Regions from separate parts of the Homo sapiens genome. Here regions 2 and 3 are each linked to region 1. The links are contacts of gene promoters, found by promoter capture Hi-C in human tissues and cell types (Jung and others, 2019). All regions are on one chromosome and are shown on one strand. Each heading gives the region's core, a stretch centred on a gene start or on the middle of the fragment in contact. The rest is flanking DNA. Distances are from core to core; before and after follow the strand shown.

What was found. The method cuts DNA at HindIII sites, captures the fragments that hold promoters and counts their contacts. A contact is called where the count stands out against the background at its distance.
Region 2: a contact is called between the fragment with the promoter of SPI1 here and the fragment with the promoter of LRP4 in region 1, in 1 of the 25 tissues and cell types used here (IMR-90 fibroblasts).
Region 3: a contact is called between the fragment with the promoter of MYBPC3 here and the fragment with the promoter of LRP4 in region 1, in 1 of the 25 tissues and cell types used here (small bowel).

The regions. Positions count from the first base shown.
Region 1 is chr11:46,916,809-46,920,062 of GRCh38, forward strand. It overlaps LRP4 (LDL receptor related protein 4), which reads right to left and starts at 1,742. Exons shown (of 38, transcript NM_002334.4): 1 at 1,520-1,742. The coding sequence starts at 1,571. RefSeq lists enhancers at 1-803, 1,967-2,471, 3,166-3,254 and silencers at 1,307-1,476, 1,487-1,666, 1,677-1,906. The HindIII fragment of the contact is 14,675 bases long and covers 1-3,254 here.
Region 2 is chr11:47,376,848-47,380,101 of GRCh38, forward strand. It overlaps SPI1 (Spi-1 proto-oncogene), which reads right to left and starts at 1,700. Exons shown (of 5, transcript NM_003120.3): 1 at 1,462-1,700. The coding sequence starts at 1,506. RefSeq lists enhancers at 254-453, 1,124-1,173, 1,347-2,298, 1,794-1,863. The HindIII fragment of the contact is 21,953 bases long and covers 1-3,254 here.
Region 3 is chr11:47,351,119-47,354,372 of GRCh38, forward strand. It overlaps MYBPC3 (myosin binding protein C3), which reads right to left and starts at 1,584. Exons shown (of 35, transcript NM_000256.3): 1 at 1,505-1,584; 2 at 121-387. The coding sequence starts at 1,529. RefSeq lists enhancers at 1-227, 228-1,208. The HindIII fragment of the contact is 22,693 bases long and covers 1-3,254 here.

The DNA of each region.
Region 1 (3,254 bases), core at 492-2,991:
GGAAACCCCCCAAAAAGCAAAGCTGTCCCTTTAAGGGGCCCATGTGGTGGGAAGAACAGCTACATTCCTACCCCAGTAGGGCCGCTGTCCCAACACGCCAAAGAGGCTACAAATAACCTTCCAGGAGAGAGCCGGGGAGGGGAGAGCGCAGAGCGGAGCGGAACGTGGGCCGGCCAAGCTACCGCTCTTCGGAGAGAAAGAGCTCAGTCCGCGCTAGAGAGGACGCGGAAAAAAGCCCCTGAAAACCCACAGGTAGTTTAAATAAGAGACATGAAAACTCTGTTTTGGATTTGGGAGGTAAACCAATCTTTAAAACGAGTGCCTAGACATCTCCACGCCCTGCCAGGCAAGTTCGGAAATCTGCACTGACTTTTTCCACACGAGCTGTCCTACGTGAAAGAAAGAACCGGTAAAAGACCAGGCAGGGTCTCCAGACCCCTCCATTCTGAGCCCCAGCTCCCTTCATCGGGGCTGCGAGGCAAATGGGGAGACTCGGAACTCCCGCCACGATGAATAGCGATGGGTGAATAGGGCTGGGGTTCAAAGATCAAAGTTCTTTGATCTCTGGGCACAAACTAGGGAAAGCTGCTCAATCACGGGGTGCACCCAGGGTCGTTAAGAGCCCGCGGAGAAGCAGATTCCATCGGAGCCCTAGTCCCACACAACAGGGGGTACGGGCACCAAGGAGTCCTGCTGCAGCCGTCCAGCTCCCCCGAGGGCTGGGACCCTGCCGCGAGGGCCCGGCGGCTGCCTTCTGGGGTTCAGGGTTACCGGCCCCCTGCCCCCCTACCCCAGCCAGGGCAGATCTGCGGGAGCCTTCCAGCAGTTTCTTCCCTATATTCCTCCTCAGCCCCCTTTCCAACCACCTCCCTTTAGGACGATCCAGGGCTGGAAGCTGACTGGCCGCAGCCAAGAGAGGGACCCCGAAACACCGCCGAGGGGAGATGCTGCCCGCAAACAGTGCCCCAGAGCCCCTTGGTGGGAGCAAGACCTGGAGTCCGGGAATCGTTCTCCGAGTAGAGGAATCCCGGTGCCCAAGTACCAGATTCTACCGGGGCCTCTCTCCGCAACCCGCCCGAGCCCCCAGCCCCAGGAAGGAGGGCTATTTACAATTTATGGGTTTAGCGACCCTCCTCACCCGCCTCCCTTTCTTCGCACGCATTCATTCGCACCAAGGACACAGAGCCCCCGACCTAACCTGAAAGGGAAGCAGCCCCCGCTCTTGAAAGAGCAGCGAGGGAGGGCGAGCGAACGAACGCCCCGGACCTTACCCGCGCCCCGGCCCAGACCCGCGCCCCGGCCCAGACCCGAACCCGCGGAAGCGCCTCCGCTGATGCCCCCGCTCGGACTGCTGGAGCCGGGGCCGCTCCGGGTCCTCTCCCCTGCACGCAGCCCCAGGGCCACGGCTAGGAGCGAGGGCGAGGGGTCTCAGGCCCCGGCCCGCGCCGTCCAGGTCCCGGGAGGCGAGTCCTGCAGCGGCCGGACCCAGGGACAAACTTTCCCGGCGGGCGCCGCTTACCGTGTGCGCAGAGCAGGGCGCCAAGCAGCAGCGCGCCCCACTGCCGCCTCATGGTGCCGCCCGCGCCGCTCGCCCGGGGTCCCGCCGGCTCCCGCCGGACGGCGCGGCGGAGAAGCCCGCGGAGGGTCCCCGAGGGGGAAGCGTCCCGGGTGCACGGCGGCCTGCGCGCCCCGCAAGTCGCCCTCGGGCCGCCGCCGCCTCCAGTGCTGCCAGAGCCGACGCTGCCCCGCCAGGGGACCGGGAGGGGGTGTCCCGGGCCCGACCGCCCCGCCCCCCGCGCCGCAGCCCCGGCCACCGCCACCGCGCCTGGGCCCGCCCCCAGCGCCGGCCCGGCCCCTTCCCGCCCTCGGCCCCGGCTCCCTGGTCCCCCGACCCCACCCGCCGGCGCCTCCTGCGCGGGGCCCCGCTCCTCCTCAGGCCGCCCCCACATTCCTGGCCCGAGAGAGAGCCCCCTCCCTGTCGCTATTACTACTGCTTAAATTTCCCTAACTTAAAAAAAAAAAATTATCCTAGCAGCAAGTCTCGCCCCCGCTCACTCCAGCTCTATGCTTCAGACGAGCACCTGAGCTGACCCAAGTCGCCTGGACGTGACCCTGCCCCCGCCTACCGGCCCCAAGTCCAGACTTTTTTGATGTCTGCGAATACGCAAGGCTTGTGGATGCATAATCCTCTTGGGTCTTTATTGACATCAAACAAGGGACATCAGGGGGCCTGGAGTGCTGTATCTTAACTGGCGTTCTCACTGTCAAAATTCCTTTTCGGAGATTTTCTTCTCCCTGGCCTCCCCCGGTCTAGGCAGCGTTGTTCTAGGGCTAAATAATTCACCGACCCCCCCGCCCCTTTTCATTCACTCATTTCCTGAGATGGTTGTCTGGGTCCTGTTGCTCCAGCTCAGAGGCCCAGATTCGGCCCATACAGACTTAGTTCCTCCTTGCTGTCTTTGTAAATCACTGTTGTTAGCCTCTTCACCTTCTTTGACTTTCTGATCCTGACAAGGAAGGGAGGGGGTCAGGAAAGGAGTCCTCATGGGCAGCTGCACTCCCACAAAGCCCTCAGCCTCCTTCCAGCCCCAGTCTGTAGGTCCTTCCCTCAGATTTAACTTTTGATTTACTGCATAAAATCATAAACTTGTCTCTAGTCTTCCTTCCTTTTGTGGTCTACTCTCCCTAATGCATATTAATAATACGGATTAATTTCACCACCTTCCATTTTTCCAGGTTGAATCTTGTTTTGTTCCTTTTGCCCAAATGCCCAACTTTCTGATGGCCCAGTATATCGCTTTTTTCCCTCCCAGCTGATATGCCAGCATTTCTTGGGCTTGGATCATCTATGGATTTCATTAACTCACTTTCCTCACCAGTAAATAGAGTCAGGAAGACCCAAATGCCCCCTGTTAGCTGAGGGGAAAGTAATTTGGCATAGTGCAAAGTGGTTATTAGATTTCTCTAAATGGATACATTGACATTTCATCCTTGCTTGTTTTTTTCAGTACTTTCACTTCAAATTACCATCTTTTACCAAAGCTAACATGAACCATACTTTGCGACAGCAACAACAACAACATAAAAGATGTAAGGTGTTAACTCCTTGTTAGGCAGTAGTTTTCTATATCGTTTTGCCTGAAATTTTTATCCAGATGCAATGTGGTTGAACTAGCATCACCATGGTAACTATTACTGAAGCATTTTCTGGGTGTGTAGTTCTTCTTGCTGACTGAAGGCGGCAGTAGCGTCAG
Region 2 (3,254 bases), core at 450-2,949, 460 kb after region 1:
AGACACTCAGAGTGACCCTGGAGCTTGCAGAGAGGGCTGGGGGTGCCTAGGGATGGCCCAAGGAGCTCTGCCACCCATCTAGCTCCACCTGGAGTTCAGAATTGAGAGGTCAGGGATCAGAGACAGTGGGCCTGTGGCTTTCTTGAGGCAGAATTGGCTCTTTCTGAGACAACCTCCGTCACCCTCTGCCTGGGCCGCCCACTTCGTGTTCCCAGGTGGGAAGGGGTGTCGGTGTGGATGCCACAGCAGGCTGGCTGGTCCTGCCTGGTCCTGCCTGTGGCTGGCCAAGTGAGGAGGCCAGGAGCCCAGCACTGAGCCTGCCCCTCTGGGTTTCCAGGTAGTACAGCCTCGCTGCAGGATGTCAGCCCGGCTCTGGTCGGGTTGGTGTGATGTCAGGCCTGGGGTGCCTCCCAGCCTCCTGGGGTGGCTCTGAGCCAGGGCATAGTGGGGGAAGGGAGCTGCCTCTAGACCAGGAAAGTGGATTCAGGTGGGCAGCCTGCCAAGCCCTTCCCGGCTCCCCTCAAGCCTCCTCACTCCTGAGAGGTCATGGGGTGGGAAAAGGGAGAAGGGTCCTTTCCGAGGGACCCTGGTCTGACACCTGCCTAAGGCTGCAACTGTCACTGAGAGTGAGGAGCAGTGGCGATCTGCCCTTCTCTTCTCGGGGTCCCCTGGGGCTCCCACTTCTTCACCCCCAAGACCCAGTCCCTGTCCTTGTCCCAGCCTCAGCCCCCATTCTCACTTATCACATGCTCACCCCAGGTCCCACCCAGCCCCAATCTCAGTCCTGGCCTTGTCCCAGCCCTGTCCCCTGCCGCGCCTCTCCCTGAACTCCAGCCCTGGGGCCAGCCCTAACTGCACTGTCTCAGCTCCACTCCTGGCTCCTTTCCAGCACCAGTCCCTGTCTCCTGTGGGTACCCCTGTGGGCCCATGGCCCTGACCCTTTGGTCAACAATCATGTCCTCTGTGCCAGGCCCCAGACTGGGCGTTGGGGACCCAGAGTTCCATCAGCTTTGGTTTCCAGGAGCCCCAAGGCCATGGGCCAAGACTTCTGCCCATTGCCTCCTGCCTTCAACCCCTTCCCATCCAGGGGACCGGCCTCCCCCAAGCCAGTCCCCCCATCTCCCTCCTCTACCTCTCTACCACCGCCTTCACCATCCTCAGCCCAGCACCCTCCCCAGGAGCCCCGGCCTCCGCCTGCCACCCGAGCCCTGTCTATAAATAACTGTTCAGGCCCCACCGATCACAGCCCCACCGTGGGCCTGGCCTCAGCCCGCCAGGGCATGCTCCGAGGAAGCCAATGGCCCCCTCGCTGGGTCTCAGGCCAGGAGTTCCAGGGAGGAAACCCTGACTTCCCACTGATAGCAAGCCAGGAGGGCAGTGGGTGGGCTGGCGGGTTCGTGGGCAGGCAGGCAGGCGTCCGAGGGCCACGGGTTGGGCTGGTGGAGGAGTCCCGGTACTCACAGGGGGGACGAGGGGAAACCCTTCCATTTTGCACGCCTGTAACATCCAGCCGGGCTCCGAGTCGGTCAGATCCCCTGCCTCGGTGGGGGCCAATGCAGAGCCCCTCAGGATGGGGTGCCCCGTCAGGGGCTGGACGGTCGTGGGGCGGGTGCAGGGCTCAGGCCTGCCCCCTGAGCTACAGGAGCCCTGGGTGAGCCCCCTCCCTTGACATTGCAGGGCCAGCACAAGTTCCTGATTTTATCGAAGGGCCTGCCGCTGGGAGATAGTCCCCTTGGGGTGACATCACCGCCCCAACCCGTTTGCATAAATCTCTTGCGCTACATACAGGAAGTCTCTGGCCGGCTGGGGCAGGTGGTGCTCAAAGGGCTGGCCTGGGAAGCCATGGGGTCCAGGCCCCCTGCCCAGAGGAAGCTGGGACTGAGAGGGATGACTTTGGGGGCTAAGCTGGGGAGGGAGGATGGGAGGGAGAACGTGTAGCTCTGCCACACCACTGGGAGGCTTTTGCTCTAACCCAACAAATGCCTGCTTCTTTTGAGATCCCTATGTAGCCAACAGTCACCTCATTGGGGTCAGAGCTGGAAGGGGTGGCCTCTTGGGGCCTCCACTTTCTGGAGTCAGCCTTCCTGGGTGAGGGCTCTGATCTAGCAGGCTATCAGGCCTGGCTCTTCCTGTGGCCCTGCACCCCCACTGCCTAGGCTATCCCTAGGCTGAGGCTGGGCTCAGGTGTAGGGTCTTCAGCATAGTGCTGCTTTCTTCCTTCCCTCTGAATCTGTTCACATGGGCTTCCCTACCACCAGAAGAGGGTCCTGGGTTCTTATACCCTCCCCTCCCAGCTTCTTGATTACCACATTCAAATCCCTAGGGCTCTGTTTCCAGCCCAGGTTTCTCAGTTTCCCCATCCCTTGGCAATGCCTGAATATCAATCTAACCCTCCTGGTTTACAAACCTTTCTTGCCTATCCACCATTCATCTGTTTTCCCATGCATCTATTTGTCTGTCTATTTGTCCATCCAGCTATCCATTCATCAAGCCCACCATGCATTCACTTATGTGTCCATTTATCCAACTGTCCGTTTGTTTGTTCATTCATCTGTCAGTCAATTCATCCACCCACCCATCTGTTTATCTACTTGTCTATCTAACCATCTATATGTCCATTAATCAGCCCGTCCACCTGCTATCAGTCCATCAGTCCACAATTCCATCTGTTTATCCATCTATGAATCTGCTCATCCATTCATCCACCTGTCCATCCATCCACCCATCCACTCATCCACCCATCTACCCATCCACTCATCTGTCCATCAACCCATCCATCATCCACCTACCCCTTCATTCATTCATCCATCCATCCACCAGTCCACTCATCCACCCATCTACCAATCCACCCACCTACCATTCCACCCATCTATTCATCCACCTATCCATCCATTCACCTATCAGCTTCGGTTTCCAGGAGCCCCATGAGAACAGGCAGTATTTGACTTTCTGTTTCTGCGTTGTTTCGCATATGATAATGTCCTCCAATTCCATCCATGTTGCTGCAAAGACATAATTTCATTCTTTTTTATGGCTGAATAGTATTTCATTATATATATATATAAATACAATATAACATGTTATTTATTCACTCACCCGTTGATGGACACTTATGTTGATTCTGTATCTTTGCTATTATGAATAGTGCTGTGATAAACATACAAATGCAGTATCTTTTTGGTATCACTCATCCATCCAGCCATCCATTCATCCATCCATCCATTCATCCACCTATCCACCCATCTACCCATCTA
Region 3 (3,254 bases), core at 334-2,833, 430 kb after region 1:
CAGCCACAGCAAAGGCAAGAAAGTGTGAAAGCACCTCCTGTTCCCTGGATGGATGGAGAGTCGCTGGGCTGCCCCTCCCCCAGCAGCCCAAACCTCAGGGAAGGCTGATCAGGATCTTACCTGCCTCTATGACCTTGAGGTCGAACTTGACCTTGGAGGAGCCAGCAATGACTGCGTAAGATCCCTGGTCGGCAGGGCCCACTTCCCGCACTGTCAGCGTATGCCGTGTGCCCTCTGTGGCCAGGCCGTACTTGTTGCTGGCGCTGATGTCACTGCCTCCGCGCTGCCAGCGCACCTTCACTCCTGCCCGCTCTGTCTCGGCCTCGAACACGGCAGGGCTGCCTGCGGCCACTTCCACTGACCGTGGCTTCTTGCTAAAAGCTGAGACTGAAGGGCCAGGTGGAGGCTACAGCGGCCCCTGGTTGGAGCGTGCACCCCGCCCCTGCAGCCCCTCTCAGTAAATACTGTGCTAGCACTTTCTATGCATCCCCTCACGTAATACTCTACCAGTTCTCTGAGGTAGTTGCAGTTATTCTGTTCATTTCTCAGAGGAGGACACTGAGGCTCAGAGAAGCTAAGCGGCTCCTCCAAGATCACACAGCTAGCAGTCGGGAGAGCCAGGGCTGTGGTCCTGACCTCCCAACAAGACTTTTTCTGCATGTGTCCACTTTCCCTGCTTGGAGACACCCGTGATGAACCCAGCTCCCTTTCCCCCAACCATTTCGGGCCCTTGGCAGGGGGCGGGGAAGTCTGCCTACTTGGAATGTGGCCAAATTTGTCCTCCAAGGACCTCAGGCTGGGTATCAGCAACTGAGATAAAGCTGGCCTGGGAGGGCGCTGGGGGATGGGGACCTGGATCTCTGCCCTGGACAACCTTCATAAGGGCACAGCCCAGGCCCAGGTCCCTGGGCTGTGATTTTCCCTGCCCTTGGCCTGGGTTCAGGGGCTCCTGACTGTCCTCTCTCAGAGAAGAGGGGCTGTGTCACCCTCAACATGGGGGCCACACCGTACAGGCTCATGAAGCAGATAATGTCACAGCCAGGAGGAACCAACCCAATGCCACCACCACCCCCGGCACCCCAGGTTGGGAGACTGAGACCCATAGTGGGTAGAGACTGGTCTGAAGGCATGCCGTGAGCCTGGCTCAGCTCCATACTAAACGTGGGCTCTGTCCGCGGGGAACCTTGCTGTGGAAGGTGAAGGCAATGGGACAGGGAAGGGGTCCCTTTGCATTCTCAGAATGGGTTGACCCCGGGTGCTTCCTGTCTTGGCTGTGTCCCCTCTCTGCGTCCCTGACCTTGGGTTTACCTTCACCTCTCATCAGAGGGATGGGAAAAAGAAACCGAGAATCAAAAAAGGACCCTGGAGGACTGGCTGCCCCTGTCCTGGGGCTCAGAGGCCACGTCCTCGTCAACCCCCTCAAGAACTCCCTCCTAGCCCTGCTCCCCAATTGTAGACACCCCCCTGCTCCCACACTTAGACCCAACCCCAGTCCTAAAGCTACCTGGCTTCTTCCCCGGCTCAGGCATCCTGAGAGACGTCACACCAGGCACGAAGCAGGCACAGGTCACCCAAAGAGGGACTGAGTGGGGTCCTGTCCTTCCCACTATATATGGGGACCTCCCCCCTCCCCAGGCTCTGCTTATCTGCCTCCTGTCCAGCCACCTGCTAAATATAGATGAATTCCAGAGAGCTGAGGTCTCTCCAGGGAGAAGGTAGGGCCACATTGTCCCTGGCTGGCTCCTGTCCCTTCCCCCCTCACCCCCCGCAGCACAATTCTGCCTCCCCAACCTTTGGCAAGCCTCAGGGGTACTCCAAGCCCCGTGTGTGTCCCTCTTACAGCAAATTGTACGGTGGGAGCATGCTGGGCCCATAACCCTAAGGCTAACGGGTCAGGAGCATCCTCGCAGGCAGTTCAGGCAGTGGTCATGTCCACAGACCCTGGGGCCAGGGTGTCTCTGAGTCCTAGCACTGCCATCTCTTTAATCTCAAAGCACCTGGTTTCCTCATCTGTAAAGCGGGGTGGGTGAAAGCAGCACCCACTGCACAGGATTGTCACACGTATGAAGTGGGTTTATAATTTTAAAAATGTTAGGCCGGGTGTGGTGGCTCATCTGTAATCCCAGCACTTTGGGAGGCCGAGGCAGGCAGATTATTTGAGGCCAGGAGTTTGAGACCAGCCTGGGCAACATGGCAAAACCCCATCTCTACTAAAAAAATAAAAAATAAAATAAATACACACACACACACAAATTAGCCAGGTGTGGTGGTGTGGACCTGTAGTATCAGCTACCCAGGAGGCTGAGGTGGGAGGATCGCTTGAGTCCAAGGAGTTCCGGGCTGCAGTGAGCCAAAATCGCACCACTGCACTGCAGCCTGGGTGACAGAGTGATAATAATAATAAAAATATTATTTATTATTATTTTTTATTATTAATATCTCAAAGAATAATAATAAAAAAATAAAAATGGGCTGGGCGAAGTGGCTCACACCTGTAATCCCAGCACTTTGGGAGGCTGAGGCGGGCAGATCACTTGAGCTCAGGAGTTCGAGACCAGCCTGGGCAACATGATGAAACCCCATCTGTACAAAAAATACAAAAATCAGTCAGGCATGTGACGCACACCTGTAGTCCCAGATGCTCGGGAGGCTGAGGCAGGAGAATCACTTGAGCCCGGGGGGTCAGGGCTGCAGTGAGCCATGTTCGTGCCACTGCACTCCAGCCTGGGCAACAAAGTAAGACCCTGTCTCAAAAAAAAAAAAATAAAAATAGAAGAATGAAGACACAACACCATTTTGCCTTCTCTTGTGGCCCTGCAGTAGGACTAGGGAGCTGCAGGGTTGGGCTGCAGTGAGCCCTCTGGGGTTGAGGAGGTGTGGGGCGGGTATTTGTCCCTACGATAATGGCCCCAGAATCTGGGTTCCCTAAGGTCTTTGACAGCGTTGGGAAGTCCCTCACTCCCAGGCTGTCTACTGCCACTACTTGCTACCGTCTGGAGGAAAACACAGGACTTACAGGCTTCTCCGCTCAGCTTGGTCTGTTTCTCCCCTGCTGTGGCTAGGAGCTAGAAAGCAAATAGAACCTGGGGGTCCCACCAGGGATTCACTTGGGTCTAAAGTCCTGCTGGGCGTGCAGCTCGTGAGAACCCTTTGCGGCCCACAGGAGCTTTGGGGCTTAATTCCTGTCCTCGGAATGCTGAAGAGTATCCTCTTCCAGATAAGCAAGGCCTCCCACTCCATGTTGACGTGTCGGG